2 separate regions of the Homo sapiens genome follow, and region 1 is linked to region 2. Evidence: promoter capture Hi-C in human tissues and cell types (Jung and others, 2019). All regions are on one chromosome and are shown on one strand. The core of a region is centred on a gene start or on the middle of the fragment in contact, and the rest is flanking DNA. Distances in the headings are between cores, read along the strand shown. Region 1 overlaps FAF2 (Fas associated factor family member 2). Region 2 holds the start of CLTB (clathrin light chain B).

Region 1 (2,700 bases), core at 77-2,576, 62 kb before region 2:
TTGCAGAGAACATGACTACCTAGACAACCCCAAAGAATAAACTATAAAATATGTAAGAAGAAGGTTCACATCAAGACATCTGGTTAAAAACTAAATATACAAAAACCAATTGTTTTCCCAACAAGATACTAACAAACAGTAGGGGGTGGGGCACTATATTGAGGGATTTAGTCACAAATTTTTCTATGATTTTATAAACTTTCTCACATTCTTTACCTTCCTGCACTTTTATTTTTAGAGTCATAATTCTGAAAAAAATCTACTGAAAAGATTCCTGCTATGGAAAAACATACGGTTTTGACTCTTAATCAGACCAGAGAAAAAGAAATAAGCTCAGAACACATCCTATTATACCTCTATGTTCCAGTTATGCTGTTCCAAGGTATGGCGACACTGATCCATAGATTCGATGCCAGTGAGATCCTGAAAAGAAGGATGAAAACAAGTTACTTAGAGAAAAACCAACAGTATACGTGTGAGTATTTTTACGCCATATACTGCTAGGAAAATACACTAAAAAATGTTAAAAGTGAGTGTTAAAGTATGGTAAAACTTCACCGATTCAGAATTTATACAGTCAGCTGACTGTTCTAGATGCGTAAAGAACTAAAAAAATGATAATTCCTTTTAAAACTTCAAGGCTTTCAATTAAGAGGAGTACTGACTAAGATCAATATTCTCCTCTCAAATTCAAGTTTAAAAAATTAAAGATTTTTCAACCTGTGGGCTAAGCAAAATATTATTTAATGCTAAACAGCTATTCTGTTGATAGTACAGGTTGAGCATCCCAAATCTGAAACCTAAAATGCTCCAACATTTTTTGAAACATTTTGAGTGCTGACATGTCTCAAAGGAAATGCATAGTGGAACATTTCAGATTTGAGATGCTCATTCAGTAAAACGTAAATATTCCAAATTCTCAAAACAATCCAAATCTGAAACACTTGTGGTTCCAAGCATTTTAGATAAGGAATACTCAACCTCTACATAATGATGTAATGCACCTTTCCTGTAAAACGTCATGCCTTTCATTAACTTATTTCATTTTATATACTGGTATTAACCTAGTTTATAATATGAACTGTGTAAAACCTAACATACCGACCCCCCTACCCCCCGCCACTTTTTTTTCGAGACAGGGTCTTGCTCTGTCATCCAGTTTGGAGTGCAATAGCGCAATGACTGCTCACTGCAGTCTCAACTTCCCAGACTGAAGCGATCCTCCCGCCTCAGCCTCCTGAGTAGCTGGCACTGCAGGTGTGCACCACCACACCCAGCTAAATTTTGGATGTTTTTTGTAAAGACGGGATCTCTCTATATTCCCCAGGCTGGTCTCCAACTCCTGGGCTCAAGCAATCCTCTTGCCTTGGCCTCCCAAAGTGCTGGGATTATAGGTGTGAGCCACTGCAGTTACAGTATTTTCTCACTATTTCCGTTCAGATGTCCAATATTCAGCAAATCTAACAGTTCATGTATACATCTCATGCCCAGAATTTCCACAGAGCTAAACTCTAGCATTCCTTCAAAGTCTAATATAAAAGCCAAAACCATCCATCTAATCCATCCATCCTTTCATTTGACAAATGTGTGCTACATGCCTATTCTGTACAGCACTAACTTACTATGTTGGAGGGACAGAAAATGAATAAGATGTAGTCTCTATCCTCAAGAAACTCCTCTAAACAACCAGTAAGCTTCAGGGCAAAGAGACTGATCTCAACCTGACAAGAATGTAGTAGTATGGACTGATGAGTCTGAAAACTGAAGTTCTTGCCTAATTCTGCACCCCATGGCCACGGACAGGCACATTTTAACTCTGAATTTAGTTTCCTTTATGTGCAATGTGAAGGGTTTAATGTGGAATGCATTTCTTTTCCAGAGCTTAAAAAAATGAAACAAAATTCAAAAACTGAAATTCGGATTTTTAGGTATACAAGTTTTCATTTTTTATAATTACACATGTAGTACAAAAACTTGCAATAAAAAATGTTAATGTTTAAAATGCTGAAATAGAAAAGTTCCTTTAAGAACCACTGGCTTTGACAGTTCTGAGTCTGGATTTTAGGTCCTGACCATTACAGGACTCTTCACATTTGCCTATTCCCTTCTGGCTTCTAATAGGACCCCCTTAACTTTCAGTGTCCTACATTACAACCCACTAAAGGACTGGGATGTCCAGGGTTCCTCCTTCTCGCTGTGGATTCTCTTTAAGAATTGGACTCTAGGCCAGGCATGGTGGCTCACGCCTGTAATCCCAGCACTTTGGGAGGCTGAGGTGGGCGGATCACATGAGGTCAGGAGTTAGAGACCAGCCTGGCCAACATGGTTAAAACCCCACCTCTACTTAAAAAAAAAAAAAAAAAAAAGGCCGGGCACGGTGGCTCATGCCTGTAATCTCAGCACTTTGGGAGGCCGAGGCGGTCAGATCATGAGGTCAGGAGATCCAGACCATCCTGGCTAACACAGTGAAACCCCGCCTCAACTTAAAAAAAAAAAAAAAAAAGGCCGGGCACGGTGGCTCACGCCTGTAATCTCAGCACTTTGGGAGGCCGAGGCGGGCGGATCACGAAGTCAGGAGATCGAGACCATCCTGGCTAACATGGTGAAACCCCGTCTCACTAAAAATACAAAAAATTAGCCGGGCATGGTGGTGGGCGCCTGTAGTCCCAGCTACTCAGGAGGCTGAGGCAGGAGAATGGC
Region 2 (2,700 bases), core at 55-2,554:
AGAGTAAGATCCTGTCTCAAAACAAAAAACAAACAAACAACAACAACAAAACCATGCAAATGGACAGCAATAAATAAATACATTAATTTAATTAAATAAAACAATAAAAACCCCCCCAAAAACAGTAACATCAAAAGGTGCTCAAGTTGTTACCAATTAAACTGAAAGTTCCAGCTGGGCTTGGTAGCTCACACATGTAATCCCAGTGTTTTGGGAGACCAAGGCAGGAGGATCCCCTGAGGCCAGCAGTTCAAGACCAGCCCAGTTAATATAGCGAGGCCCTGTCTCTAAATAAAAAAATTAAAAAGAAAAAAAAAAAAACACCTGGAAGGTCCCTTCACCCCAACTCCACTTCCACCCCCAACTTGGCGGCACATCTTTCCTTTCGCTCTTCCAGTCCATATTTCATAGTTGCCTTTCAAGTCCCACATTAGAAATAGCAGACAGCCCAAATCCCATGGTGTTTCTTTGCATCGTCTCCCTATACCCCGTGTTTAAATGTCACAGCGCCTCACACACAGTGCTTTGACAGGCCATTTGCCATCTGTTGGTCTCACCGGATTGTAATCTCCGCATGGCCATGGCTGGATTTTATAAAACGTTGCTGTCCTGGTGCTTGGCAAAGCGCAGGCAGGGAGGAGGCATTCAGAGCCTGTTCACAGAGGGCAGCGGGCAGCGTGGAGAGTGGTAGGCTGCCTGGGTAAACCAGGTCTGCCTTTCTCAGGCTGGTTCATACCTAAAGGACATTTAAGGGGCCTAGCTGGCCATCCAAACTCTGGTCGTATGAACTGAAGCCTCCTCAAGGGAGATACACAAAAAAATACACAAAACAACACGGCCTAGTGGGAAAGGACCTGGACTTGCATGAAAAGGTGCGGGGCAGCCTTTCCCAGCCTCAATTTTCCTCTTCTTACAGAGGCGGAGGCTCATAGAATGAGGTGCATGACATCCCAACCTAGGAGAAGAAACTTCTGCAGAATGAATCAGGAGCCAGGTCTGCGCTCCCGAGGCCAGAGGTGGCCTCCTGTCGCAGCTCTGTGCACGGTACGGCCACTCTGTGCCCTGCGTTTCGCCTCCAGGCCGGGCGGGAGCAGTGCCTAGCCCAGGTGTCCTCGACGCGAGCAGCTGGGCGCCGCTGCGGAGGGAGGGAAGCGCCGCGCCGGTCCCGGGCCCAGCGCTGCGCCCAGTCCTGAGGCGCCCTCCTGCGGCCGCTGCTCGGCGACCTCCCGGCCCTGCGGCCCCGCCCCCGCGGTGACGTCACCGCATTCCGGCTCCGCTCCTCCCGCCGCGGCGCCCGCACCGCAGTGACAGCCAGCCGGGCCCGGTGGCGGAGAGGAAGTGCGGTCCGCGCCAAGCCCGTCCCCGCCGACGCCGGCTCCCCCGCGGCTCGGGTGACAGCGTCGCGGCCGCCGGACGCAGCGCGGGGCAGGCGCGGGCAGAGCCGAGCGCAGCGGAGGCTCCGGCGGAGGCGCGGGGAAAATGGCTGATGACTTTGGCTTCTTCTCGTCGTCGGAGAGCGGTGCCCCGGAGGCGGCGGAGGAGGACCCGGCGGCCGCCTTCCTGGCCCAGCAGGAGAGCGAGATTGCAGGCATAGAGAACGACGAGGGCTTCGGGGCACCTGCCGGCAGCCATGCGGCCCCCGCGCAGCCGGGCCCCACGAGTGGGGGTGAGTCAGCGCGGGGCCTGGAGAGGGGCTCAGGGCGCGCACCCGGGGGACCCCGGCCGGGGCCCAGGGGCACAGGGAAGAGAGCCTGCTCTAGGCCACCCGGGGCAGGAGCTGGGAGACGTGGGGAAGAATCTTCTTGGAGATCTCCATGTAGGACTTCCGAGCTGGGGATGAGGCCTCGCCTGGGGCTGTGGATCTGGTGACTCCCGGGACAGGAATTCGGTCATGACATTTCATCCCCAGGCCAGCTTCCCCACTGCCCGGCTCTGGAATCCAACCCCACCTCAGTTTTGAGAGTCCCTCCTGAGCCTCCTAATAGCCTGGGTGTCCCAGGCTCCCAGCTAAGTGTGCAGGTGTGGGCAGAACACAGCCCTCCTGGCCCCTCAGGCTTAGCTCTCTCCTGCAGCTGGGAAAAAAGAGGATCCTGGGTGCTCCAGGAACTCACTAACCTTCCCCGGTGACCGCCTGGCATTCGGCAGTCGCTGGGCTAAGCGCCTTGGTTACATTTAATCACTTCATACACGTGATTGAACCCATTTCAGAGATGGTAAAACTGAGGCTCAAGGGAGTATGCTATTGAAATAACTAGTAAGTGGCAGATCAAGAATTTAAACCTGTTTCTTTTTCTTTTACATATATATTTTTTCTTTTCCTTTTTTTGAGATGGGGTCTCGCTATGTTGCCCAGACTGGTCTTGAGCTCCTGGGCTCAAGCAATCCTCCCACCTCTGCCTCCTAAAGTGTTGGGATTACAGGTGTGAGTCACCACACCTGGCCGTGAATTTAAACCTGTTCCTGTCGGACTTGAAGCCCTCTCCACCTGACCACACTGCCTACCAAGTGTCTGGCTCTGAGTTAGACACCGGAGTGTGGGCCACAAAGAGGCATCAGTCAGATGCGGTAGGGCCCTTCAGGGTTTTGTAGTTGTCGACTTAATGGTTTTCCAAAGGTGGTCCGGGGCTATTATGATTTACTGTGATTGGCTTCAGACCTCAGTGTTCAGGGCCTAGTCCCTGTGAAATCATCTTTATCAAT

Evidence for each region. Contacts are between HindIII fragments. The study calls those that stand out against the background at their distance.
Region 1: a fragment that was not itself captured here is called in contact with the fragment with the promoter of CLTB in region 2 in 2 of the 25 tissues and cell types used here (liver and spleen).

Annotation. Positions count from the first base shown.
Region 1 is chr5:176,476,911-176,479,610 of GRCh38, reverse strand. It overlaps FAF2 (Fas associated factor family member 2), which reads right to left. Exons shown (of 11, transcript NM_014613.3): 2 at 355-423. Among named protein-coding and RNA genes, the nearest start is that of FAF2, 30 kb to the right of the region's middle. The HindIII fragment of the contact is 5,477 bases long and covers 1-2,700 here.
Region 2 is chr5:176,415,143-176,417,842 of GRCh38, reverse strand. It overlaps CLTB (clathrin light chain B), which reads left to right and starts at 1,304. Exons shown (of 6, transcript NM_007097.5): 1 at 1,304-1,666. The coding sequence starts at 1,480. RefSeq lists silencers at 1,012-1,471, 1,512-1,611, 1,722-1,801. The HindIII fragment of the contact is 14,544 bases long and covers 1-2,700 here.